Linked DNA regions of Homo sapiens: region 1 is linked to region 2. Evidence: promoter capture Hi-C in human tissues and cell types (Jung and others, 2019). All regions are on one chromosome and are shown on one strand. The core of a region is centred on a gene start or on the middle of the fragment in contact, and the rest is flanking DNA. Distances in the headings are between cores, read along the strand shown.

What was found. Contacts are between HindIII fragments. The study calls those that stand out against the background at their distance.
Region 1: a contact is called between the fragment with the promoter of MRPL1 here and the fragment with the promoter of PAQR3 in region 2, in 1 of the 25 tissues and cell types used here (small bowel).

The regions. Positions count from the first base shown.
Region 1 is chr4:77,860,959-77,865,500 of GRCh38, reverse strand. It overlaps MRPL1 (mitochondrial ribosomal protein L1), which reads right to left and starts at 2,671. Exons shown (of 9, transcript NM_020236.4): 1 at 2,622-2,671. The coding sequence starts at 2,652. RefSeq lists enhancers at 2,124-2,223, 2,584-2,983 and a silencer at 4,468-4,542. The HindIII fragment of the contact is 8,859 bases long and covers 1-4,542 here.
Region 2 is chr4:78,936,996-78,941,465 of GRCh38, reverse strand. It overlaps PAQR3 (progestin and adipoQ receptor family member 3), which reads left to right and starts at 2,028. Exons shown (of 6, transcript NM_001040202.2): 1 at 2,028-2,426. The coding sequence starts at 2,242. RefSeq lists silencers at 1,849-2,338, 2,429-2,498. The HindIII fragment of the contact is 22,278 bases long and covers 1-4,470 here.

The DNA.
Region 1 (4,542 bases), core at 1,422-3,921, 1.1 Mb after region 2:
GCAGTGAGCCGTGACCGGGCCACTGCACTCTAGCCTGGCCAACACAGTGAGATCCTGTCTCAAAAAAAAAAAAGAGTCAAGGATATTCTGAGGTTTTGGCCTGGACAAATGAAGGATGGAATTGCCTTCAAATGAGAAGAAAAAGACTGCAGGCTATGACAATGAATTTGATTTTAAACAACTGCAAGGTGCTGATATGCTATCAAAGTGGAGATGTAGAATACTCAGATGAGTATAAGAATCTAAAGTTCAGAAGAGTGATCCCAACTGTAGATATAAATTTGATAACCATTAAGGTATAGACAATAATCGGCTGGGCATGGTGGCTCATGCCTGTAATCCCAGCACTTTGGGAGGCAGAGGTGAGTGGATCACTTGAGATCAGGAGTTCGAGACCAGCCTGGCCAACATGGTGAAACCCCACCTCTACTAAAAATACAAAAATTAGCCGGGCATGGTGGCACGCGCCTGTAATCCCAGCTACTTGGGAGGCTGAGGCACAAGAATTGCTTGAACCCGGGAGGCAGAGGTTGCATGAGCCAAGATCGTGCCACTGCACTCCAGCCTGGGTGACAGAGCAAGATTCCTTCTCAAAAAAAAAAAAAAAAAAGATATACACAATAATTGGCCATCCATTTCTCCAACAGCCAGGAAGAATGCTGGTATTGAGGCTAATACCTAAAAAGAACAGTAGCTACCGTGGCTTCCAGTGCTTTAATGAACCTCCGATGTGGGGCCTTCTGGCAAAACATTTGCAATTTCATATTGTTGAAGCATTCATTGTATCCCTGGGGGTTTTCGCTATGTTCGCGGTGGCTGAGCCAAGAAAGAAGGCATGTGTCGACTCCTACAGAAATGATGATTCCATAAAAGATTTTGAGGAGATGAGGAAAACGTATATTTCAGAGCACAAAGTGATTTTGCAATATAAAGAATTTCTTTGGGTTGAATTACCTAAAAGTTTGTCACTGACCTGTGTTCTTGAACTATGAAATGTGAAAGTTTCTCCTGATAAGTAAACAATTAAAAAAATAAAAAAGATAGACAATAATCAAAGCCACAAACTTTGGATGAGCTAACCAAGGAGTGAATTTAGATACAGAAGAGATGAGAATGAAGGATGGAACCCTGGCTTCCAGAACACTCCAAAGTAAAGAGGCTGGGGAGAGGAAGAGGAACCAGCCAAGTAATGTGAGAAAAAATGACACATGAAATAGGAAGACAATTAACAGAGAGATATCCTAGAAGCCAAGAGAAGAAAATGTGACAAGAAAATTATAATATTCAGGTATTTTTGGTTTCTTTGGATTTGTGTAACATAACGATTTCTGTCATACATGAAGATGCCTTCAACCTCCTTTCAGAAATAATATACATTTTGGTTTGCTCACAAAGTAGGCATCAGGGTCTGTTGTTATCTCTTGTCACCCCTAATTTTTGAGCAATAACTCTCTTGACACAGTTTTCCTAAAAAGAAACTCAAAAAAAAAAAAAAAAAAACTGTGATGCAGTGTTAAATATACATGTATCACTGACCTAGGATTGCAAGCTTCAGTACTTCCTCTGCCATTTACTAGTTATATGAACTTGGCCACATATCTAATAAGTTCAGTTTCTTCCTCTGTAAAATGGGGGTAATGCTGGCTACTGCTTCTACCTAAAGACCTACCTAAATTAAACAATATATATCACTGGACTTCAAAAACACAAAATAAAAGCAAAAAGCGTTGCACAGGCCGGGCGCAGTGCCTCACGCCTGTAATCCCAGCACTTTGAGAGGCCGAGGAGGGCGGATCACCTGCGATTAGGAGTGCAAGACTAGCCTGGTCAACATGGTGAAACCCTGTCTCTACTACAAATACAAAAATTAGCCAGGCATGGTGGCACACGCCTGTAGTCTCTGCTACTCGGGAGGCCGAGGCAGGAGAATCGCTTGAACCTGGGAGACGGAGGTTGCAGTGAGCTGAGATCGCACCACAGCACTCCCAGCCTGGGTGGCAGAGCGAGACTGCCGTCTCAAAAAAAAAAAAAAAAAAAAATTGTTGCACAAGAAAGGGCTGTCATCGTAGACAAAAAGTTGAAATTATTAAGATGAAAAGAGGCGCTACCAAGAGGTACTACAGAATTAGCCCCCTCAAATGATAAACGTTGATCCAAATTAGACCACCTATGGAAGTTTAAGAACTGGAATCGCCTATAACGAAGTAATTCCGAAAGCACCAAAAAGCACTTTGAAAATTGCTCTAATTTACAGACTTAAGCCACTCAAATACATCATCTTTCCCTTATCAGAACTCACCTCACTTATCACACTCCACTACCCGCAGCCCACACCCCAGTATCAGAGACGACCCAGTCCTTGCCATGCCCATAGGTGGCTGGAGGGCGCTCGATGTACGTCCCGCTCCCACTCCCTCCCTCAGGGTGGACGTCTCCAGAATGGAGTGAAACCCTTCATAAGGTCACTTTTAAGTAGTAATGACCCACCCTCTGAAAAACCTAGAGACCAGAAACAGCACGAGGCATTTTCAGCACCCAGAGCAGAATCCGCCTTGCACTCTGCTGCAACCAGAGACTCGGTGCCAGAGCCATTTCCCCTGCAAGACAACCCCTCGCCTTACCTCTACCCATGCACCTTACGGCCGCCGCCATGTTGGGCACTCCGGATTGCGTTCACGAAATTGTTCCTACGTTTCTACTGGGAAGAATTAAAAAAAGGTTCCGTTCTAGAATCCGCAAAGAGGGAAGGAGTTAAAAAGAGAAAGAGGAACGGGGCGGGGACCAAAATGAGCTTTGCTGCCGGCGTGGCGGTGTTACTGTTAGTCCTCCGTGTTGCCCAGGACCCTGTGTGTTTCGTGGTTCCGGTATGGCTGGTTAACCACCTTCGGGAAAATACGATCCTGTTGGCGATGCTGTGATTATTTTAATCCTTCCTTCTTATTCTTTTTCTTTTTTGATCCTGCAAGTGTACTCAGAGCGACAATTTTAACAGGCTGTGAGAGTACTTAATACCCAACGTAAAATCTTGAAAAACAGGAACCCTGAAACCCACTAGCTTCCTCCGCCACTTTTCCGGCCTTGGAAAGACTTATTTTAAAAATTCTCTAGGCGTTTTCGCCGCTACCCGAGGGAGGTGTCCAACTCACTGACAAACTTTTTTTGCTAATTGTCAAACTTTCTGTCAGCGCAAGATCAACCTTAGCTTTAAAATCTTAAATTAATCTCTACATTTACCCCCTGCTGGCAAGCGAGTAGACTTACCATTAGGATCAATTGAATAATAATACTTGACATTTATAAAACATTTCTAGTTTTAAAATGGCAGCTCCAAGACCCACGCACAAGTTATTCTGATAGGAAAAAAAAACAAAAACAAAACAGAATGAGTGTACTTTCCATTACGTCACAGCTGTCGGTGTGGTTTATCTAAAACAAATCTGATTACGGATTTTATCACTTCCCAGCTTACCTCCCCCACAACACACACACACACACACACACACACACACACACACACACGTTTCTCACCTCCATAACTTGGTTCATTCTATCTTCTCTGCTTCGTGTGTACCGTACCCTACATCACCTAGGTAACTTTTTAAAGATTTCGCCTCAGGCTGTGTTTCTTTTAAACAGTTTTGAGATATAATTTACATAGCATACAATCTACCAATTTAAATTGTACAATTAAATGGTTTTTAGTGTACTCAAAGAGTTGTGCAGCCATCACCACAATATATCAGTTCTTGTCACCAGTCTGAGCTTTTTATGGGTAGAAACCATCTTACTCATTTTTGTAACCTCAGCACATACTTCAGTGCCAGGCCCATAGGAGGCTCTCAGTAAATGTTTGCTGAATAAATGAATATATGCATACATGAATTAGTGACTCAATTAGAATGGCAAGCCTGCAAAATTAACTTGCTTCAATGAAGCTGCCCACAGGCAGATGAACTGGATCAAAGGCATTTCCCAGATGCTTTATTCATATTTATACATAGTACTCATCTACATGAAAAAATAAGATTTCTAATGTATTGCCTTGTCTTGTTAACACCTAAGCAGTTACTTCAAAGATTCTATAACAATTTGTGACTTATGCAAAAAAATCGAAGAACTTAAATCTATCTTTGTAAACTTTTCCTTCTCTCCCTCGCTCCCTCTCATCCTCCCTTCTTTTCACAAATATATGAGTGCCTGCCATGTGTCAAGCAGTGTACTTGGCTATGCATAAATGAAAAAAACTAATTCAATTTGAGAGTAAGTACCAGAATTGGAGCAAGTTTACCCAGTCAATTTCAGAGAAAAACAAACACTCAGATTAGAGGTGCTGGTCCTTAGACCCTATATCTGTTTCCTTTCCACAGTCCACAGCTGGGGTCAGTTGGCCCCCATCTGTGGACTTTTTTTTCCCCCTCTCAAGACAGGATCTCACTCTGACACCCAAGCTGGAGTGCAGTGACAAGATCATAGCTCATTGCAGCCTTCACCTGCTGGGCTCAAGTGATCCTCATGTCTCAGCCTCCCAAGGGGCTGGGACTA
Region 2 (4,470 bases), core at 779-3,278:
TACTTTAAAGGAGACTGGGAAGGCCTCAAAACTAAGGTCTCTCTGAACTTCTTTCCGTCCTCCTTTCTTCCTTTTCCTGTTCTTCCCAAGTGGGTCTTACAACCTAGAATTTCTCTCCCTAAAGGAAGCCATAAAACCTAGTAAGGGGCCGGGCGTGGTGGCTCACGCCTGTAATCTCAGCACTTTGGGAGGCTGAGGCAGGCATATTGTTTGAGGTCAGGAGTTCAAGGGCAGCCTGTCCAACATGGTGAAACCCCATCTCTACGAAAAGTACAAAAATTAGCCGGGCATGGTGGTGGGTGCCTGTAGTCCCAGCTACTCGGGAGGATGAGGCAGGAGAATTGCTTGTACCCGGGAGGTGGAGATTGCGTGACCCGAGATTGTGCCACTGCACTCCAGCCTGGGCTTCAGAGTGAGACTCTGTCTTCCCCCAACAACAACAACAACAAAAAATCTAGTAAGGTTACTTTCTGACTGTCCCTGCCTTTCCGTGGTCACAAAGGAGTTCTGACTTACCTCACCTGAAACTAGGTCATAAAACCCTCATTCTAGAGAGTTCCTGCCCCATACTCTGAGGCCAAGAATTTGAATGAACTGGCCTTGCTAGCTAGGATCCCCCCTCAGTTTATTATCATTAGATGATGCCCCCTTTCAATCATGTTTCTCCACAACTATCCACTCCTTTCATCAGACTTAGCATAAAAAGCCCATTTTTTCCTGGGTCTTTGTGTCTTCATTTCTGAAGACTCCTCTGTCACATAAAACTGTGTTAAATGAATTTATTATCCCTTTTCTTGTTAATTTTTATTATTTATTTTTTGAGACAAAGTCTCGCTTTGTCACCCAGACTGGAGTGCAGTGGCACAAACATGGCTCACTGCAGCCTCGACCTCCCAGGCTCAAGCAACCCTCTCACTTCAGCCCAGAATAGTTTGGGACTACAGGCGCCCATCACCACACCCGACTAATTTTTGTTTTTTGTTTGTTTGGTTGGTTTTTTTTGTAGCGACAGCGTCTCACTATGTTACCCAGGCTGGTCTCCAACTCCTGGGCATAAGCAATCCGCCTGCCTCGGCCTTCCAAAATGTTGGGATTACAGGCATGAGCCACCTGCGCCTGGCTTCTCTTAATTTTTTTCATAGGAATGTCAGCTGTGAACCTTGTGATAAGTGAGGACAAGATATTTTTCTTGCCCTTACAATGCCAAACAATGGACTAAGCGTTCTATTATACACATACGGTACTCAAACTGATGTTTTGCCCTGTTGCCATTATAAGTAAACACTTGCATTACAGTAAATAGCCAGAAACAAAGCTGCAACACTTCCTGTAAACGCTACTATAGCCGCACTCCACAGGATTTTTTAATATGTTCTATATTATTCAGTTAAGTAGATATTCTCATTTCCATTGTGATTTCTTCATCAGCCCTTGAAATATTTGGTGTATTGCTCCTATTCCAGACGTGGAGACTTTTAGTTTTCTTGTTACTCTAGTTTAATTCTACTGTGATCAGAGAACATAACGCTGAAAGGGGTCGGAGTTTTGAATGCACGGGGGCTTTCCTTTATGGCTCAGGATGTGCTCGATGCTGGTGTATGTTCCACGTGCATCAGGTTTCCTCTCTTTCCAATTATCGTGCTAAGAGCTGACTTCAGCTTAGAAATCCTCAAAGTCCCTTCTGACACTAAGTGTGTGTAATTCCAAGCATAAACTAAACGGTAATTACCTCGAACTTTTCTTCCTGTTAACTCTTTTCCTCTTGATTTTTCAAAATGCAGCAACTATTACTTCTAATAAAAAAACAGAAAAAGAAAAAAAATCCACTTGTATTCGCCTGTAGCTCTGTGCTTTCGGCTCTTCTCATATGCAAACGAAGACCCCAGGCGCCGCCAAAACACAGCGTGAGAGACGCCCGGGAGCCCGGGCCGCCGCCAGCGCACGCTCGAGCACACCCGGGCGCGCCCCAGCACCCTGCCCCTCCCAGCTAGGGCTGAGGGGCGGGGCCGCCGCGGCGCGCTGACGTCAGAGGAGGCTGCGACGCTGCCGGGTCCGCCGCGGCGCTGGCGGCAGTGGCCGGTGTGAGCGCAGAGCCGGGCCCTGGGCAGCAGCGGCAGCGCGGTAGGACCTCGCGCAGCGTCCGCGGGCTCCGGGGCGGGGGCGCCAGCGGCGAAGCCCCCTCCCCGGGGAGGCGGGACCTGGGGGAGCTCCCGAGCCGGGGAGCGGCGGCGGCCGGGAACGATGCATCAGAAGCTGCTGAAGAGCGCGCATTACATCGAGCTGGGCAGCTACCAGTACTGGCCGGTCCTGGTGCCCCGTGGCATCCGCCTGTACACCTACGAGCAGATCCCCGGGTCCCTCAAGGACAACCCGTACATCACCGACGGCTACCGGGCCTACCTGCCGTCCAGGCTGTGTATCAAAAGGTACGGTCTGGCTGCCTCCGCCTGGAGTGCCCCCTTCTCTCACCTACACCCTTTTTGTCTGGTCCCCCTTCTGCTTTCCCCGCCTTTCTGCTTGCCCATCATTTCCTCGCCGCCCCATCCTTTTCATCCCTTTTTGCCGCCTCTCCTCCCCCGTTATCTCCCCTTACCTGGCCGGGGTACTTGGTCCACGGAATAATCATGATAGTAACAGTGATCATAATTACAGCTCTCCTATGACGCTTTGCTCTTTACAAAGGGCTTTTACATCCTTTATTCGGTTTGTTCGGCTCATTGAGATATATATTGAAATGGGGCTGAGCCATATTTGCCCGGTGTATACCTTTCTTTTTAGAGCAACACTGTGGGAATTCAGTAGCTTTGGGCCAGATAAGTGCCTGTATAATAGGAAACAAGTTAACATATACACCCGAGATTTATTCATTTGGCAAATACTTATGGAGCCCATGCAGAAAAAAAAGCAAACATGGCCCTTGTTTTCATGAAGCTACTAAGGTGTAGCCTGGGTAACAGACATTAAATAGATAATTACACAATTACATAATAACCATTGTGGAAAAAATGCTGTGTAGGAAAAGTACTGTGGTAAAGAGAGCTCATAACGGGCACCCAGTCTCCACTAGAGCACCACAGAAGCATCTCTAAGAAAGAAATTTCTTTATCATTTTAAACCTTTAAAACCACAGTCCCTTGAAAATCCGTGTTTTAAAAAAACAAAACTGAAAAATAACTATTCTAGTTCTTGGAGTAACTGTCCAAACTTACTACCTGTACTAAAATACAGGACCTCTGCTTCAGGAGAATTAAGATACAGGTGTTGGTTAGCTCCAGGTCGCTGTAGTGGCAAACCCTAGTGCCAGAATGTGGGCTGTTGAATTGCTCAAGCGGCAACCACATGTCTGATTCTTGATTTTTCCAGCATTGTCTTTTCCTGCCCTTCTTTCCTTTTGTCCTGCCATGAAAGTGTTTCTGTGACTCATGGTCACAAGGTGACATCACTGCCCATCCCTACTTGGCTTGAATGGATGGCCCTTAGGATTCACAACTTGAAGCGTAATTACCGTTTTCCTCCCCAGTGCCTCCTGTGCATGAGTAAATTACACAGCTGAGTTCTGCTGTGGATCTGGAGTTCCACAAGAATAGGGCAAGCAGTGAATTGCCTTAAATATTTTCTACTCAACTAGCAGTGGTCTTCTGCGTTCTGATGTTAGGGTCCAAATCTCATGGAGTGGAAAATTAAGTATAGAGCATTAGCTCTTGAGCTATTGAGTCAAAGACTTTAGTATCCAAATCTGCCACTTAACAGCTCTGAGACCTGGAGCAAAATGTAACCTCACTGAGCCTCATTATACCCACATATAAAAATGAGGGTAATCACAGTATCTGCTTCCAGAGGTAAAAAAAGATTCAGTAAGATTCTGTGTGTGAAATGCTATACATGGCCTGGAACCTAATAAGCCGTCAATAAATGGTGATTGTTGTCATCACCAGTGGTTGTGAAGCTGAACAGATGATGATAATGAAGATGATTATTTGATTTTAAAACTGAACAGAATACGAAGATGTGGTGCTGGACTCCTGTTAACTTCAATAAGGATGGCACCAGGTTCGAAAGACGGAAGAAGAGACCCAAAGCCAGTAAACAAGACATAGGGTTTTACTAGGGTAATTTACAGAGAGGTCCAGTGACAGTGGCCTGAACGGGAGAACCTCTGCCGCCTGCAGAAAGCATGCAGTTTAAATAGCATTTTTACTTAGCACCCTTCCCCCTAACAACCTCCATCTGGTAATCTTCATTTGCAAAACAAAAGGCCTCCATCCCATGTACAGTCAGCATTCCATGAGATGGGACAGGGGCTCAGATGTTCCTCATAGATAAGGAATCAGTCTAAGGGTTGGCCGTGCTTGGAATTGTAAACACACATTCAAGTGTGTTTTTCATATAGGGTCATTCTCAGGGTATGCTTAAGATACTGCTGTCAGGTGTGTCTACTGTGCAGGAGACACCTAACTTTTCGTACAGTAA